Regions from separate parts of the Homo sapiens genome. Here region 1 is linked to region 2. The links are contacts of gene promoters, found by promoter capture Hi-C in blood cells and fetal thymus (Javierre and others, 2016). All regions are on one chromosome and are shown on one strand. The core of a region is centred on a gene start or on the middle of the fragment in contact, and the rest is flanking DNA. Distances in the headings are between cores, read along the strand shown. Region 1 holds the start of NKX3-1 (NK3 homeobox 1). Region 2 holds the start of CHMP7 (charged multivesicular body protein 7).

Region 1 (5,669 bases), core at 1,805-4,304, 440 kb before region 2:
CTTACACAAACTTAGATGGATGTAGTCTACTACACACCTAGGCTACATGGTATGCCCTATTGCTCCTAGGCTACAGACATGTACAGCATGTTACTGTACTGAATACTGTAAGCAAAGGTAATACAATGGTAAGAATTTGTGCATGTAAACATATCTAAACATAAAAAGGTACAGTAAAAATACAGTATCATAACCTTATGGAACCACCGTCATATATGCTGTCTGTCACTGATCAAACGTCACGATGCAGTGCATGGCTGTATGAGAGCAGCTGTTCCTCCACACTCTCACTTACACTGGACATTATCCATTTTTTTTAACCTTTGTCAATCTGAAAGGTGGAAAAGGCTCGTCTCAATGTGATTTTGATTTGCATTCCTTCACTGATGAAGTGTAGTTAAAATATTTTTTTCACGTGCTCGTTTGTGTTTTACATCTTTGAGCTGTCTGGAATTTATTTTGTCATAAGAATAGGACTTTATCTTTTCCAAATGGCAGCACTTGTTATTAAATAATTCATACCCAACTCTCAATTTTAGAAATAAAAGGAGGCCATCTCAATCTAAACCTCACACTATATACAAAAATTAATTCTGAAGGAATCATGGATTGAAGAGTAAAGCATAAAACTTTTAGAAGATAACATAGGAGCAAATCTTCAGTATTAGGACTAAACAAAGAGTTCTTAGGCAGGACATCAAAATCACATTCTGTAAAATTCAAAAATTCATAAATTGATCTTCAATGAAATTAAAATCTTTTGTTCTGTTGAAGATCCTGTTAGAGGGATGGAAACACAAGCTACAGACTGGGAGATAATATTTGCAAATAACCTACCAAACAAAGACTTACAAACAGCAATATATAAAGAACTATCATAACTCAATGGTTAAAAAATAAAAGAAAGAAAAATTCAATTATAATATGAGCAAAAGGCTTGAACAGATATTTCACCAAAGAGGAAATATGGATGGCAAACAAGCACATGACAAGGTATTCAACATCTCTAGGCATTTGTGAAATGCAAATTAAAAATTTAAACCACAATAAGGCCCAGCACAGTGGCTCACACCTGTAGTCTCAGCACTTTGGGTGGTGGAGGCGGAAGGATTGTTTGAGCCCAGGGCTTTGAGACCAGCCTGGGCAACAGGGTGAAACCTTATCTTTACAAAAACTACAAAAATTAACTGGGCAGGGTGGCACACACCTGTAGTCCCAGCTATTCAGGAGGCTGAGGTGGGAGAATCTCCTGAGCCCAGGAGGTTGAAGTTGCAGTGAGCCATGATCTCTCCACTGCACTCCAGCCTGGGCAACAGAGCAAGACCCTATCTCTAAATAAATAAATAAATGACGTCTGTAGTCTAGTTAACTGTAATGTCCCAACGTAAATTTCCTGTTTTCTACATTGTCCTACAGTTGTATAGATGTCTTTGGAGGACACTGGAGGTATTATTTTTGCAACTTCCTGTGAATCTACAATGATTCAAAAGAAAACATTAAAGAATGTTCTAATATAAAGAGACTTTGAAAAGATGAGAGAAGAAAACCAGCTTTGCCAAAGTCTTTCCCGTTGCACAGGTAGTTTTCTTTGGCGGTCGCTTTATCAGCAATAACCTATTAACTTTCCTTCCTCCAGAGACACATGACATACCATCCTTTTGAAAAGTTGCCAGTTGAATAGAAGCCGTCTTAGACCAGGACAGACAAAAAAGTTGCATTAAAAAAATGGTTCTAAAAAACATCAGCCTACCCTTTTTCCAGATTACCAACTGTTACCATTTAACCCATCGGCTTTATGGCGTGGGATCTATCAATCTGCATCCTTGTTTCAGAACCATTTGATGTAAGTTTCATAAATCTTGTGCCTTTGCTCCTACTTACTTCAGTGTTTATTTCCTAAAAATATTCTCTTGTACACTGACAGTACAATGTGCAATTTCAGTAAATTTAACATTAATTCAATACTTCCATCATCGACCTGACACTGAGACTCATGCCTGTAGTCCTGGCACTTTGAGAGGCCAAGGCAGGAGGATCACTTGAATCCAGGAAATCGAGGCTGCAGTGAGTTATGATGGCATCACTGCACTCCAGCCTGGGCGGCAGAGGGAGACCCTGTCCGTAAAAAAAAGAAGAGAAAAGACAAGGAAAGAAAATACTTCCATCATCTCTGTTCCACTTTCGTCTGTTGTCACGGTACCGTCCAGTCCAGTCACAGTACCGGTTGGACCAATCTGGCTAACCCATTGTTTAGCCAATGGGTTACATGTTAACAGTTGGTAATCTGCAAAAAGAGTATGCTGATGTTCTTTTGAACTACTTTTTTAAATGCAGTTTTTGCATTTGTCCTGGCCTAAAACGCCTTCCATCCGTCTGGAAACTTTTCAAAAGGATGGTATGTCATGTGTCTGGGGAGGAAGGAAAGTTAACAGGTTATTGCGGATAAAGGAACCACCAAAGAAAACCACTTCTGCAACGGGAAAAGGCTTTGGCAAAGGTGTTTTCCTTCTTTCAGCCTGGGGTCTGGCTGCACCTACTTGTCATGCCTCTTTGAGGTCGTAGATATTGCAGATCTGAGTTTGCACCATCTCTCCCAGAGAGAGAGAGCACCCAGAACTCTCACGGTACCGCGCGGCTGCAGTGACTGCGTGCTCATCCCCTGTAATTGGCTCTGACGGTCCTGAAGAGCTAACTGGACTGTTTGTCTTGATCGTCCCATCCCCAGGAGCTTCTCTCTGTTGCGGGTGGGTTGGGGCAGAGGAGCCCCGCTTTGGGGTGCGCTCCTGGCCTGGGAAAACGGCTCAGGGCGGAGGGAGGAGAGCTGGAGAAGGAGAGGAAATTGGGGAAGGAGAGGGAATTGGGGAAGGAGAGGGAACTGGGGAAGGAATCCCCTAGGGAGGAGCGGAGCGGGGCAGTGCTCAGGGCTCGCAGATCGGCGGGGTCACCTGGGGCTCAGGGCGGCCAATCCGCGGCGCGGCCCGTCCCGCGGCCAATGGGAGGGCGGCGCGGCCCGCTCCCCTGGGCTATAAGCGAGCCGGGAGGCGGAAAGTGAAAGCGGTGCGGGCCGGGCGGGTGCATTCAGGCCAAGGCGGGGCCGCCGGGATGCTCAGGGTTCCGGAGCCGCGGCCCGGGGAGGCGAAAGCGGAGGGGGCCGCGCCGCCGACCCCGTCCAAGCCGCTCACGTCCTTCCTCATCCAGGACATCCTGCGGGACGGCGCGCAGCGGCAAGGCGGCCGCACGAGCAGCCAGAGACAGCGCGACCCGGAGCCGGAGCCAGAGCCAGAGCCAGAGGGAGGACGCAGCCGCGCCGGGGCGCAGAACGACCAGCTGAGCACCGGGCCCCGCGCCGCGCCGGAGGAGGCCGAGACGCTGGCAGAGACCGAGCCAGGTAAGCGGCGAGGCCGGGGAAGGGGGGCAGCCCAAGGCGGACCCCCAGAGCTCGGGGTGCAGGGACGCGGGGCTCCGCGGCGACAGGCAGAGGGACCTTCCCGCCTCCGCAGCCACGCGCGCGCCCCCGGAATGAACCCTGAGCCCCAGCGTCAGGGCGGCGCAGGATTCTGACACCGCAGGACTCGCCCGGCTCCGTGCCCTCCGCTCCCTGGGGCTCAGAAGCCGGCGCGACTGCAGCGCCACCGCCCTCCACCGTCCCAGGAGCGGATCCCGCCCCGCGCCACCCGCGATCGGCGCCAGCCCCCCGGTAGTTATGAGAACTAATAATAACTTATTAACAGTGACAAAGCAGGGGTTGACCAGCAAAGCCTCCGTGTGCTTCCCAATCCCGTGGGCAGTAAAGCGGTATATTCGGGGTTCCCTCCGGTGTCCAGGAGAGAGAGTCCACTTATTTTCTTTCCTGTCACTTCTGATGAGGCGACCGAACGCCTCGTTTAGCGAAGAGGGAATTAAAGCCCAGAATGAGCCTGCCTCTGCGTCTCCAGTGGCACAAGCCCTCTCTTGCCCACCTGGATCCTAACACCGGATGTCTTTTGGTCTGGCCTTCCCGGGTATCTTGTTCCACGGCATTTTCCCTGCCTCCCTCTCCCGCCTCTCCTCAGCACACAGATCCAGAATCCCCATATAATTCTACTAGACAGTAGGGAGAAAGTTCAACCACGAAACGTCTCTAACTTTGGGTTCTTGATGATTCTTAGCAAATGAATGCGTAATAAACATATTTACTCACTCTTCACTCCGGAGAGCTCCTTAGTCATGTGAAAAAAGTGAAATGTATCCACGATGACAGTGGGCTGTTTGTTCACTCACTAAAGAGATAAGGGTGGATTGAATTCTGTTCTCTTCCCTGCTAACATGTAACTTTTGTCTTCCCATCCCTCCTTCCCCACTCTCCTTTCCAGAAAGGCACTTGGGGTCTTATCTGTTGGACTCTGAAAACACTTCAGGCGCCCTTCCAAGGCTTCCCCAAACCCCTAAGCAGCCGCAGAAGCGCTCCCGAGCTGCCTTCTCCCACACTCAGGTGATCGAGTTGGAGAGGAAGTTCAGCCATCAGAAGTACCTGTCGGCCCCTGAACGGGCCCACCTGGCCAAGAACCTCAAGCTCACGGAGACCCAAGTGAAGATATGGTTCCAGAACAGACGCTATAAGACTAAGCGAAAGCAGCTCTCCTCGGAGCTGGGAGACTTGGAGAAGCACTCCTCTTTGCCGGCCCTGAAAGAGGAGGCCTTCTCCCGGGCCTCCCTGGTCTCCGTGTATAACAGCTATCCTTACTACCCATACCTGTACTGCGTGGGCAGCTGGAGCCCAGCTTTTTGGTAATGCCAGCTCAGGTGACAACCATTATGATCAAAAACTGCCTTCCCCAGGGTGTCTCTATGAAAAGCACAAGGGGCCAAGGTCAGGGAGCAAGAGGTGTGCACACCAAAGCTATTGGAGATTTGCGTGGAAATCTCAGATTCTTCACTGGTGAGACAATGAAACAACAGAGACAGTGAAAGTTTTAATACCTAAGTCATTCCTCCAGTGCATACTGTAGGTCATTTTTTTTGCTTCTGGCTACCTGTTTGAAGGGGAGAGAGGGAAAATCAAGTGGTATTTTCCAGCACTTTGTATGATTTTGGATGAGTTGTACACCCAAGGATTCTGTTCTGCAACTCCATCCTCCTGTGTCACTGAATATCAACTCTGAAAGAGCAAACCTAACAGGAGAAAGGACAACCAGGATGAGGATGTCACCAACTGAATTAAACTTAAGTCCAGAAGCCTCCTGTTGGCCTTGGAATATGGCCAAGGCTCTCTCTGTCCCTGTAAAAGAGAGGGGCAAATAGAGAGTCTCCAAGAGAACGCCCTCATGCTCAGCACATATTTGCATGGGAGGGGGAGATGGGTGGGAGGAGATGAAAATATCAGCTTTTCTTATTCCTTTTTATTCCTTTTAAAATGGTATGCCAACTTAAGTATTTACAGGGTGGCCCAAATAGAACAAGATGCACTCGCTGTGATTTTAAGACAAGCTGTATAAACAGAACTCCACTGCAAGAGGGGGGGCCGGGCCAGGAGAATCTCCGCTTGTCCAAGACAGGGGCCTAAGGAGGGTCTCCACACTGCTGCTAGGGGCTGTTGCATTTTTTTATTAGTAGAAAGTGGAAAGGCCTCTTCTCAACTTTTTTCCCTTGGGCTGGAGAATTTAGAATCAGAAGTTTCCTGGAGTTTTCAG
Region 2 (5,282 bases), core at 890-3,389:
CAACATCCACACAGAAAGCATTAGGCCCAGATGGTTTCATTTGATAAGTTCTACCAAATATTTAAGAAAAAAGTTGTACCAGTTCTGTGCCATCTCTTTTATAAGATAGAAACAAAAGGAATACTTCCCAACTGATCCTATGAGGCAAGGATTACCCTAACGCCAAAACCACACAAAGACATTACAAGAAAGAAAAAACACAAAACAATATATCTTGTGAATATAGATGCAAAAATCATCAATAGAATGTTAGCAAATTGAAACCCACAATGTATCAAAAGAATTGTACACCAGGTTAAAGCGGAATTTATTACAGCTAGGCAAGGCTAGTTCAATGTTCAAAAATCAATTAATATAATCCACCAACAGACTAAAGAAAAATCATATGATCATATTGCTAGATGCAGAAAAAGCATTTGACAAAATCCAACACCAGCTCATGATAAAAAGTCTCGGCACTCTAGGAATAGAGGGACACATCCTCCACTTGATAAAGAACATAAACAGGAACCTTACAGCCAACATAAGAATTAATGGTGAAAACCTAGATCGTTTTCCAGTGGAATCAGGAATAACACAAGAATGTCTGCTCACACCATTCCTAGTCAACACTGTACGGGAAATCCTAGCTAACACAGTTAGCCAAGAAAAAGAAATAAAAGTTGTACAGACTGAAGAGGAAGAAATAAAATGGTCTGTCTTTATAGAAGACATAATTATCCATGCAGAAAATTATGAAAGAATTGCCAAATCGATGTCCTGGAACTAAGAGGCAATGAGAACAAGATTGCAGATACAAAGTTAATGTATAAAAGTCAATTCCCATATACCTATAATGATCAAGTGGAATATGAAATTAAAAATGCAATACCATTTACATTAGCACCCCCCTATAAAACTTAGGTATAAATCTAACACGGTATGTACAAATTCTACATAAGGAAAACTACAAAATTCTGATGAAAGAAATCTATGAAGGACTAAATAAATACAGAGGCATTTTATATTCATGGACAGGAAAACTCAATATTATCAAGATATCAATTCTTCCCAAATTGATCTGTAGATCCAGTGAAATCCCAGTGAAAATCATGGCTAGTTATTTTGTGGATATCAACAAACTAATTCTAAAGTTTATGTGGAAAGGCAAAAGACCCAGAAGAGCCAACACAATATTGAACAAATAAGTCAGAGGACGGATACAACCCAACTTCAAGAATTACTATAAATCAACAGTAATCAAGATAGTGTGGTATTAGTTAAAGAATAAACAAATAGATAAATGGAACAGAATAGGAATCCCAGAAATAGGCACATGTAAATACAGTCAACTGACCTTTCGAAAAAAGAAAGGCAATACAATGGTTCAAAGAGTCTTTTCAACAATGAGCACTGGAACAACTGTACACCTACATGCAAAAACAAAAACAAATCCAGGTACAGATCTTACACCATTCACAAAAGCCAGCTCAAATGGATCATGGACTTAAATGTAAAAACACAAAACAATAAAACTCCTAGAAGACAAAACATCTAGATGACCTTGGGCATCATGATTACTTTTTAGATACAACACAAAAAGCATAATCCATGAAAGAAATAATTGATAAATTAGACGTAATTATTATTATTATTATTATTTGCTTTCTGAAAGACACTGTGAAGAGAATGTGAAGATAAGCCACAGACTGGTAGAAACTATTTGCAAAAGACATCTCTGATAAAGGACTGTTATCCAAAACACACGAGGAACTCTTAAGACTCAAAAAAAAAAGAAAAAGAATAACCCAGTTAAAACATGGATAAAAGATCTGAGCAGACCTCTCACCAAAGAAGATCTACCAACGGCAAATAAGTATATGATAATATGCCCAACATCATATGTCATTGGGGAACAGCAAATTAGACAAGAATAGCATACTACTACACACCTATTAGAATGGTGAAAATCCAAAATACTGACCACACCAAATGCTGGTGAGGATGCAGAGCAACAGGAACTCTCATTCATTGCTGGTGGAAATGCAAACTGGTACAGCTACCGTAAGGTTGGCCAAGAGAAAAGACGAGTATACTCAAAGTCAGGCAAGCAAGTTTATTGACCTGCCGGCCTGCTGCATAACAGTCAGAGGAGGCAGCCCAGGGTGTTTAAGGTGAGGGACTTATATAGGGCTTTGAGGGCCTAGGGGCTTTCTGAGGTTAGTCTACATCCTGCAGTTGTTTGTCACTTCTTGCCCCACCTGGCTTAGAGTACCAGGATGTGGTTTGGCCTGGGGGTGGATACAGCTGTACCTAAGTTCTGGTAACGTGAAGTAGGGGCAGCATCTCAGAAGAAATAAGCTGCAGGGCATTTAGGGGAGGGGGCTTGCTGCGTTCTTCTGTGGACAGGTTGTCTCTAAGAGCTACTTTGGAAGACAGTTTGGTCGTTTTTCACAAAATTAAACATTCTCTTCCCATGCAAGTTTACTTATAGTTTAACTTTGAAACAAAGTATAACAGTCCTTTCCCAAAACAAAACTCCTTACTGCCTGTGGACTAGACTGCCTAGACTGCCACAAGATTAGAAGTTATGGTAATTTTACTAAATCAAGATGTAGCTATTTTCATTAAACCAGTATCAATGTCTTATTTATTAATGGTTACACGAGCAGAGATCATTCTGTCTTGGGCTGGGTTTATAGCCTGTGCCAAATTTTGACACCTAATAGTATTTGGCAGGGTTAAGTATGAAATTGCTTGATTAATAAACGCAAATAAAAATGTATGCTGGCAATTCCTAAGACATTTCTAATATTACTTTACCAATAATTTTAAAGATAGCTTATTTATTAAAGATTTTACTTAAGTCACATAACTTGAAAAAGCATTTGACTAGTCTTTCCTTTTTCTAATAAAGTATTTGATGTAAATGCTTTTATTTTTTAAGACAATTAATTAGAGCTCTTTGATATATTTTCAGGAGTGCAACATTGTATACATAACATATAAATACATAGATGTATTAGGCATGCTGATAGAAGAAGTACATCTTACAGATTCATAAAAACCTTTTTTCTTTATCTTAGACTTTCAGATTCTTGATAACCTGTTTCACAGTGCTAGGCAGTAGTCAGCTAAATAGTCTTAAATTTGCATATTAAAGGAAACAACTCAGGTGAAAGTCAGATAGCAAAATTTACATTATAAGGTCTGAAGAGAAATTCTGTGAGCTAGAGGGAAATTAAAACAGATTTAATTGCCAATTGAACATAAAATTATAGAAATTTATCACTGGATTGTATAAGGAGACCACTGTTATTTAGATAGGGACTACCAATTCTTTTTTAACTGGATCTCTGAGCTCTGGGCAGAGCCCACACTGAATCCTGGGTCTCCAAAAAGGGAGAATTATTATGAGGCTAGACCACATGATGCTTTTACAGTGCACTTAAAACATTTTTGTAAACAAAGCATTTCTAAGTGTCTAAACTATACTCTTTCTTAAAAACCCAAGAGTAGCCTCTGTTGCAATAACTATTTTAGTAAAAAAAAAAAAAAAAATCGAGTGGAAACAGAATTGAGTCAATTGAGAACAAAAAAAGTTTTTGCTCAAAAAAAGACAAGGTCCTAGCAGAGAAAAACAAAAACAAAACCATGAAGGCCTTTTAAATATGAACATGCACTTATGCACACATACACATACACATACATTTTAAATATTAGCTTTTAATTAAGTTGACTTTTAACTATTGAGTGTCTTTAAAAATAAAAAATCTTGGGCTGGGTGCAGTGGCTCATGCCTGTAATCCCAGGACTTTGGGAGGCCCAGGCGGGCGGATCATGAGGTCAGGAGATGGAGACCATCCTGGCTAACATGGTGAAACCCCGTCTCCACTAAAAATACAAAAATTAGCCGAGTGTGGTGGCACGCGCCTGTAGTCCCAGCTACTCAGGAGGCTGAGGCAGGAGAATCGCTTGAACCCGGGAGGCAGAGTTTGCAGTGAGCCAAGATCGTGCCACTGCACTCCAGCCTGGCGACAGAGCAAGACTCTGTCTCAAAAAAAAAAAATTCAAAATTTTATTATTATATTTCAGCTAGGACAAATTGCTGCTATTTCAGAAGTACCAAGTATTGGTCCGGCGCGGTGGCTCACACCTGTAATCCCAGCACTTTGGGAGGCCGACGCTGGTGGATCACCTGAGCTCAGGAGTTCGAGACCAGCTTGACCAACATGGAGAAACCCCATCTCTACTAAGAAATTCAAAAGGCACATGCCTATAATCCCAGCTACTCGGGAGGCTGAGGCAGGAGAATTGCTTGAACCCGGGAGGCGGAGGTTACGGTGAGCTGAGACCACGCCATTGGACTCCAGCCTGGGCAACAAGAACGGAACTCTGTCTCAAAAAAAAAAAAAAAAAAAAAAAAAAAGCAGAAGTACCAACTATCAAACCAGAAAGGACTTGATTTAGGAACCAAACTTAGGCTGTCATGAAGACAGGAGAAAAAAAAAGGCAGAACCTTAGCTATTGAACTGCAGAGTAGGGGGACAGCCATTGCTTTCAGTTTGGCCTGGTTAGCAAAAAGGAGGCTTTGTTATGTAAATAAAACCCCTTAAGTAATAAAAATAAAACATTTTTCTTGCCGGCCGGGTGCGGTGGCTCAAGCCAGTAATCCCAGCACTTTGGGAGGCCGAGGCAGGCAGATCACCAGGTCAGGAGATCCAGACCATCCTGGCTAACACGGTGAAACCCCGTCTCTACCAAAAAATACAAAAAAATTAGCCAGGCGTAGTGGCGGGTGCCTTAGTCCCAGCTACTCGGGAGGCTGAGGCAGGAGAATGGCGTGAACCCGGGAGGCAGAGCTTGCAGTGAGCCGAGATCGCGCCACTGCACTCCAGCCCGGGCGACAGAGAGCGACTCCGTCTCAAAAAAAAAAAAAAAAGTTTTTATTTATTTTTTTTCTTTTGTTGGCCGTTTTTCTCCCCTCACTATACCACCTTTTTTTGTGTATGGGAATTTAGCCACTTTAGAGGCCTTGTTCCTCATAATTTGGAACTTTCCTTCGGATTTGATTGAGTTGGACAGAGTTGGTCAAACCCAACGGGAGAAAGACTGAAACAACAAAAACAGAAACAAATAAACATCAACAACAACAAAAAAGTTAAGCAAAACAAACAATCTCACAACTTAACATAATTCCTGAGCACTGTAATGGTAAGGAGAAATAAAGACCAGCTGGTTTTTAATCTTAACTTTAGCCAAGATAAACCCCAATTCAGTTGCTTATCTAGGAATGGATCTCA

What was found. Contacts are between HindIII fragments. The CHiCAGO score rates a contact against its expected background, and 5 or more counts as called.
Region 1: a contact is called between the fragment with the promoter of NKX3-1 here and the fragment with the promoter of CHMP7 in region 2, in 1 of 17 cell types (neutrophils). The highest score is 5.3, in neutrophils.

The regions. Positions count from the first base shown.
Region 1 is chr8:23,680,323-23,685,991 of GRCh38, reverse strand. It overlaps NKX3-1 (NK3 homeobox 1), which reads left to right and starts at 3,054. Exons shown (of 2, transcript NM_006167.4): 1 at 3,054-3,388; 2 at 4,353-5,669. The coding sequence starts at 3,103. The coding sequence ends at 4,771. All of the region lies in intron 3 of LOC107986930 (a long non-coding RNA gene), which reads right to left. RefSeq lists silencers at 2,873-3,382, 3,423-3,472. The HindIII fragment of the contact is 16,626 bases long and covers 1-5,669 here.
Region 2 is chr8:23,240,494-23,245,775 of GRCh38, reverse strand. It overlaps CHMP7 (charged multivesicular body protein 7), which reads right to left and starts at 2,139. Exons shown (of 11, transcript NM_152272.5): 1 at 1,932-2,139. RefSeq lists an enhancer at 1,946-2,447. The HindIII fragment of the contact is 15,350 bases long and covers 1-5,282 here.